Regions from separate parts of the Homo sapiens genome. Here region 1 is linked to region 2. Evidence: promoter capture Hi-C in 16 types of primary human blood cells and fetal thymus (Javierre and others, 2016). All regions are on one chromosome and are shown on one strand. Each heading gives the region's core, a stretch centred on a gene start or on the middle of the fragment in contact. The rest is flanking DNA. Distances are from core to core; before and after follow the strand shown. Region 1 overlaps BCL9L (BCL9 like). Region 2 holds the start of RNF26 (ring finger protein 26).

The links. The method cuts DNA at HindIII sites, captures the fragments that hold promoters and counts their contacts. A CHiCAGO score of 5 or more calls a contact.
Region 1: a fragment that was not itself captured here is called in contact with the fragment with the promoter of RNF26 in region 2 in 1 of 17 cell types (neutrophils); the score reaches 5.8 in neutrophils.

The regions. Positions count from the first base shown.
Region 1 is chr11:118,905,697-118,909,451 of GRCh38, reverse strand. It overlaps BCL9L (BCL9 like), which reads left to right. Exons shown (of 10, transcript NM_001378213.1): 4 at 797-1,182; 5 at 1,850-1,969. Among named protein-coding and RNA genes, the nearest start is that of MIR4492, 3.1 kb to the left of the region's middle. RefSeq lists enhancers at 1-191, 1,920-1,989. The HindIII fragment of the contact is 2,072 bases long and covers 484-2,555 here.
Region 2 is chr11:119,332,630-119,336,227 of GRCh38, reverse strand. It overlaps RNF26 (ring finger protein 26), which reads right to left and starts at 1,701. Exons shown (of 1, transcript NM_032015.5): 1 at 1-1,701. The coding sequence starts at 1,105. RefSeq lists an enhancer at 1,168-2,059. The HindIII fragment of the contact is 9,565 bases long and covers 1-3,598 here.

The DNA of each region.
Region 1 (3,755 bases), core at 270-2,769, 430 kb after region 2:
GCTGGTGTGGAATGAGGGGGGATAAATATCCTCTCCCGTGATGTGATCTTTCCAGCGGCTATTAATAGGTCTCCGGGGAGGGGGAGGCGGCGGGGGGAGCGGGCTGGAGCTTAAAGGGCCCGCAGCCTAGGCTGCAGGAATCCTTGGCTTCAAGCTACACTCCCCATCTGCTTGACACACCGCTCCCCTCCCCCTTTCCTCCTGCTTCTGCCTGCCGGCCTGGCCTGCCAAGCCCCCCTCCTCAGGCCTTCCCCTCCAGCTGTCTGGACCAGTGGGTAGCACTCCCTGGTGTGCGTTTTCCCACTGTCCCTGGGGAATGAGACCCGGGCATGTGCAGTGACCCCAGGTCCTGTGGCCCTTCTCTGCTGGTGTTGGGACATATGGGAGTTGAGGTTTGAGACCTTGGAAGGAGTCTGAAGACAGCAGATCTTAGAAGAGAGGATGCTTAAGTCTGATACAGAGGACAGGGTTGCCACAGAAGCTTGCAGGCTGATGGGTGTTTTGGGGCTGAGGTGGGTGAATTCTGCCAACTCTAGGCCCTGGTTTCCATTCAAATTGTGGAGGCTAGGGGGTGGAGGGTTTCCCCATCTCCACTCCCCAAGGTGGATGAGGGCTTCAGCCCTTGTCTGAGGAAGCCATGGAGGGAGGTAGAGAATAGCTGGTGGTGGTCTTGAGATACCACCCCTTCCCCCCACCCTCCCCCATTGTTAGGGGAGGCAGGATGGGGTAATTAAGTTGCAGGCATGCCTAGCCCCTAGCAAGGTTAACTTTTCACATTTCTCCCACCTCCTCCCAGGTTACCCCACCCCAGGAGGAGAGAAGCTCCAGGGAGCCCGCCGCTGTCCCCCCGCGGTCATTGCCCCCCTGCCCCAGCCAAGCCAATGCACCCAGAAAATAAATTGACCAATCATGGCAAGACAGGGAATGGCGGGGCCCAATCTCAGCACCAGAATGTGAACCAAGGACCCACCTGCAACGTGGGCTCGAAGGGCGTGGGGGCGGGGAACCATGGGGCCAAGGCCAACCAGATCTCGCCTAGCAACTCAAGTCTGAAGAACCCCCAGGCAGGGGTGCCCCCTTTCAGCTCGCTCAAGGGCAAGGTGAAGAGGGACCGGAGTGTGTCTGTGGACTCTGGAGAGCAGCGAGAGGCTGGGACCCCATCCCTGGATTCAGAGGCCAAAGGTACCCCATTTCCTCATCCCTAAGACCCTAGCATCTCCCATAGTCCAAGGCTCAGATGTTCTGGGAGATCACCTCTCTGCTCCCTGCTTGTCCAGTCCTCATCCCACGTTCTTCTCCAGTATTTCTGCATGGGTACCTTTCAACACCCACCAACCAGATCATTCGGGATTGGGGTTGGCCATGATGCCACCCATGGAGGGGCCACACAGAGTGGTCGGACTTCTGGACTCCTTCCCCTCCTGCTTTCCCACCAGAGCTCCAGAAGGGGAGAGGGAGGTGCCATGGAGTGAGGAGCAGACCCCAGACCCACACACTTCCAGGAGCCTCCGTATCCCGGCTGGTGGGAGCCCTTTGGGAGCAGGCACTGGGGCCTGGAAGAGTAGCAGCAGCTCCCCCTCCCCTCCAGCCCTAATTAGAACCAGTTGTGGTTGGGGATTATGCTGTACTTGGTGTTGGGGGGGAGGGGAGACAGGCATGGGGCTATAGAGAGAAATCAGAAACAAATGGTGGCGTGGTGGGGGCCACGGGCTGGCGAAGTGCCCACCATGGCCTGGGCAGTGCCCTCTAGGGTGGGGCATCTTAGAGAATGGATCTGGGAGGGACCCTGGGTGTGGGAGAATAATGGGGCCTCTAGGCACTCACTCTTTCCTCCGTCCTGCCTGGGCAGAGGTGGCGCCGCGGAGTAAGCGGCGCTGTGTGCTGGAGCGGAAGCAGCCGTACAGTGGGGACGAATGGTGCTCTGGACCGGACAGTGAGGAGGACGACAAGCCCATTGGGGCCACCCACAGTGAGTGCCTGTCGATGCCAGGGTGCTGTAGCCCGTGATGTTCCTGGGGGATGGACTTGAGAGGACTGAGCCTGGGAAAGAAGTGAGGACTGGGAGTCCTGGATTTTTCTCTCCCATCCTACCTCTCAGACTCTGTCCCTCCCTACACTGCAACTGCCTCGCCTCTGCCTTCCAGGTGCTCAGTGACCCCCTCTCCCTAGGGACCCTAGGTGGGGCAGAGTGGAGTGGCCTCCTTCTTGGTCACGTCACCTGCACCTCTACCTGTGAATTCCTGGCCTATGCTGCCACCTACTGGTTAGTGGAGGGAGGGCGGTGAAGCGTCCAGGGACACTGGGAGCCGGGCAGTTGGCTCTGCTGTGCAAAGCCCTGCTAAGCCTGGGTGTGAGTTGCCACTTGGCCGTGTCTCTAGTGCCCTTCCCTAACCTCTAATTGACTCCTGGCAAGTACCCAGGGTGTGTCACCAGGACAAGAAGTGGGTGTGGAGGGATGCCCACTCCTCCTCTGATTCTTTTATGGATTCGCCTATATCTTGTCCTTCCATGAGTGATGGGGGAGAGCCAGATGTAACCCCTGCCCCTGGGAAGCTTGTACATATTTTTTTTCCCTCAAAGTTTACGTTTACATCTTTTTGAGGAGAGAGACATAAGAAACTAGCCAGAGAGGCTGGGTGTGGTGGCTGTCACCTGTAATCCCCAGAATTTGGGGAGCTGAAACCGGAGAATTGCTTGAGCCCAGGAGTTCAAGAACAGCCTGGCCAACATAGGGAGACCCCATCTCTAAAAAGAGAGAGAGAGAGAAAGAAAGGAAAGAAGTAAAGAAAGAAGAAAAAGAAACTAGCCAGAGACTATTAAATTGTGAACTCCTTGAAGGCAGGGACCATAGAAAGAAGAAAGAAAAGAGTACATTGGCTACTTTGCTACTCTGTTTTATTTAATCCTTACAACAGCCCTGTGAGGTCAGTGTTATCATGATGCCAATTACAGAGGAGGAGAGAGAGTCAGCAAATGTTATGGAGTGAGCAGACTATGTCTGTGACAGGGGTGTAGAGGGTCAAATACCAAACCTCTACAGCTAGCTGGAACCTCACAGACCATCCTGTATCAGTTCTCTCTCCCCCGTGGGACTAACCTGGTGGTCGCCAAGCCTCTGGCTGAACCCTTTGATGATAGAAGCCTTTACTGCTTCCCAGACCAGACACCTCCCCCCATAGCCACCACCTCCAGTTCACTTATGTCACATCAGACTGCACCATTGTAGAAACTTTGTGAGTTTTATTTATTTATTGTTTAGAGACAGGGTCTCTCTCTGACACCCAGGCTGGAGTGCAGTGGTGTGATCACAGCTCACTGCAACCTCAAACTCCTGAGCTCAAGTGATCCTCCCATCTCAGACTCCCAAGTAGCTGGGGCTCAGGCATGTATCACACCTGGCTAATTTTTGTAGAGACAGTCTTGCCATGTTGCCCAGGCTGATCTTGAACTCCTGGTCTCAAGCGATCCTCATGCCTTGGCCTCCCAAAGTGCTGGAATTACAGGAGTGAGCCACTGTGCCTGGCAAACATAGGGAAATACAAAGTAGAAATTGCTAACATCCCATACTCAAGGCGACTATTTTAGTCGTACTACCCTTAGATTCTTTTATTTATTTATTTATTTATTTATTTTTGAATCGGAGTTTCACTCTTGTTGCCCAGGCTGGAGTGCAATGGCACGAACTCGGCTTACTGCAACCTCTGCCTCCTGAGTTCAAGCGATTTTCCTGCCTCAGCCTCCCGAGTAGCTGGGAT
Region 2 (3,598 bases), core at 452-2,951:
TCCAAGGGTCTTGCCCACCTGGAGGCTCCTCCTCATTGAGCCTCTCTCGGCCCCTGACAGGTGTCACTCTGATGGTCCTGGCCTCCTCCTCTTCTGCCTCTGATCTGCGCCCCGCTTCAGGAAGAGTGTCCTGTCTCCGGGTCCTAACTGAGAATACCCTCATAGGGTCACCCTGGGGAGCTCCAGGTGCCCCTCCCCGGTTTGGCCAACTCGCCAGCTGCAGACTGCGGCTCCAGACTCGGCGCCAGGCCTCTGAGCCCAGTGCTAGGCGAGAGAGCCGCATGACATCCTCTCGAAGACGGTGGTAGGATGGCCGGGCATGGAGCTGGCTGAGTGCCTGGGTAGCCAGCCTCAGGGTGAAGTCCGGATGCAACACAGTCACCGTCACTGCCAGCACACAAGCTAGCAACACCAAGCCAGTGAGATTGACAAGCACAAAGCTGGCCAGGAGGCGGGCAGCTGAGGCCAGCAGCTCCAGGGCTAGTTGGCAGGGTGTCCAAAGGAGGATGGCCATGGCCACAGCACTGCTGGAAATGTGGGCTAGGAAGGCAGCCACTACGTCCGTCATCCTCCACAGAGGCCCGGTCACTGCATCCCACAGGGCCAGCACCAGGGAAAAGAGGTTCTGAGTGCCGATGAGGCAGATGTTGACCAGGCTGTTGATCACATAAGCCACCAGGCTCATGGCAATGGCACAGATGTCACAGGCCTGGCGCAGCAAAGCATGGCCACTGGAGACCACATTGAGGACGCCCCGGTGCAGTATCTCCCTGCTCCGCAGTGCCCCATGAGAGGCCAGGTGCCCCAGGAGCTTTAGGCTCTCTAGGCCAGAGCAGCAGCTATACAGCAGAGTACACAAGGCCTGCAAGCCCCCACATGTGAACCGGACCACGGCTTCGATCAAGGCCAGCAATGAAAGCAAGACTCCGCGGCCCAAGTGCAGAAGACTAGTCAGTACCGTGTGCGGCAGGTTGTAGACGAAGGCCAGGAGCCAGGCCAGGGAAGCCAGGAGGGAGGACACCAGCAGGAAGTTGAGGTCCAACACCAAGGTCAGCACGTCCAGCACCAGGCCCAACCCATTCACTACCAGGTACACTGCCTCCATGATAGGGCTATGGAAGTTAGTCCAAAACAAAGTCTGGCTCCTCGGTTGGGGGGTTGTCAAGGTTGTCAATATTTTAGGGGGTCTGGGATTAATTTGGAAGGAAAATGAGCAGTCTCCAACCCAGGGGGTACCAAGAATCTGAGGAAGAAGTGGGTAAGACGGAAGTGGAGTCTTGGTAGAGGGAAAGGTGGCCAGGTGCCAGTCCAAGAGTCCAGGTTTTGAAGATGGGCTGTTTGGGAGGGAAGAGGCCAAACATCTCTAAAGCGAAGGCGAGCCCAGGCCGTAGGAGCGACCTCAGCTTTGGATGCCTGGTGTGGCGAACCACGGCCGGGCAACGGGTCAGACCGGGAGGAGACGAGGAACGGATGGAATGGGATCGGATCGGATCGGGTCGCGTCGGGTCGGGCCGGGGCCGGGTGGGGTCGATGTAAGCTGGGCGCAGGCTCTCAGTCCAGCTACGCAGGTGCCCCTGTCCCCGCCCGGCCCCCGTCTTCCCGCTAGCGGCGCTTTGCACCCAAAAGGGGAGTGGGAGAGGCAGCCAGCTTCAGCAAACCCCAAGCGCAGCCCCTACTCCGCTGGGCGCCGCCATCTTGTGTGCAAAGGGGTGGAGCCAGAGGCGTGACGAGGAGGGAGGGACGACAAACTCCAGCCAATCGGTGAAGGCCAACCACAAAAACGTCGATCACTCATTGGTCCGTTTGAATGGCGCCCGAACGTATTTACTTTCCAAAGGGAAGGAGAGGCGACAGATTAAATCCCCTCCCCCTTTAGGCGGGGATTGGTTCGTTGGCGGGCAGCGTCGAAATACGCTCTCCTAGCCCCACCCTCTAAAAGAGCAGGGTCTTGGACTCCCCTCAATTTGGGAGCTGTTCTTTCTCCCGGCCTCTGAACGCGAGGTTTTTTTTTTGGCTTGGGTCGGAGGTCACTGCCTCTGGGCTGGGCTTTGGAATAGCACCGCCTTCGCAGCCTGCCCAGATCCGTCTCCTCATTCTCTTCTATTTATTCATCTATTCTATCATTTATTGAACTCCTACAGTGCATTGAGGATACAAAAAAATTTTAAGACAGTGCCTGCTGTTCACAAGGGAAAGCAGATTATTACAGGGGATTCCCAAACTGCTATTCCAAACTTTCCTCACCAGGTTTTTCAACATCTCGGAAGATTACTTCATTGTCATTGAGAAAAAGGGGCTACAGATTTAGAAACCGCTCAGCTTCCTACCCTGGGCCTTCCTACCCTAGAGTGCAGTGGCGCGATCTCGGCTCACTGCAACCTCTGCCTCCCGGGTTCAAGCGATTCTCCTGCCTCAGCCTCCCGGGTAGTACAGGTGCCCACCACCTCACCCGGCTAATTTTTGTATTTTTAGTAGAGACGAGGTTTCACCATGTTGGCCAGGCTGGCCTCGAACTCCTGAACCTCGTGATCCACCCGCCTCGGCCTCCCAAAGTGCTGAGATTACAGGCGTGAGCCACCAAGCCCGGCCCTGCCCTTTTCTTTAATACTCAAACAATAGTCAAAATATATTTGAAACCCCATCCCAAATATATTGGGAATCCTGGCGTTTTCTACTAACTCCAAGGATGCTTAGCAGACTCCTAGTGGACTTATCTTTCCCCTGGTCACCTTTGCTGAATTTCCTACTTGAGTTGAATTCTCCATCTCCACTCCTGGGCTCCTGAAAGTGTCCGTCCTCCTTCAGTCTGCCCTGAACACTGCCTCAGAGTCCTTCATTCTCCAAAGCATCACTGATAAGAAGCTGAGGTGTGCAGCAAACCTTTACTGAGGCCTTGGGATCGTGGTAGGGGTACGCTATAGTGCAGAGGAAGGACTGCAGTCGCTGAAACTCCTCTGGCTTCTTCCTACCCTTTCTCTCTCCCTGCTCTCAGGCCCTGGCCAGGTTATGGTTTGTTGTGTTGTGATGTGTTGCTGATGTTTTTATTTTCCTACTCGCATCCTCCCGCCAGTGTCAAATCTTGGAGAATGTGCCCACCTCCCTTTCAAGACAGTTGATCCCATCGCCCGTACCATCTCCTCTTAAGGGATCTTATTTGTCCAGTGAACACTATGTTGTTATTAATCAATCTTCCTCCAGCACTTGACACCACTTCCTCCACCCTTGGCCTCAGAATCATTACCCTTTCCTATATTCTTTCTGTTTCCATCATAGCCTCCTCTCCTGTATACACGATGATTTCTGAATTTGTGTCTTCAGCCTGAACCTGTCCTGCAAACTTCAGGCTCCAGCTGCTTCCTGGACATGAACGGTTCATGGGTATCCCACTGGTGCTTCCTACACAATATGTCCAAAGTCAAACTTGGCAAACGTGCTGTGCCTGCACTGCGTGCAATTAACTGGCCAGTTTTCCACACCAAGAAGCATGTAAAGTCCTTCTCAGAGTTGGCAGGATCCTCTAAGAGAGAATTTCCATTCGTTTAGGACCAAGACCTCCCCTTTGAGTGATTTGAGACTCACTAATCCAAAGCCCTCTTTA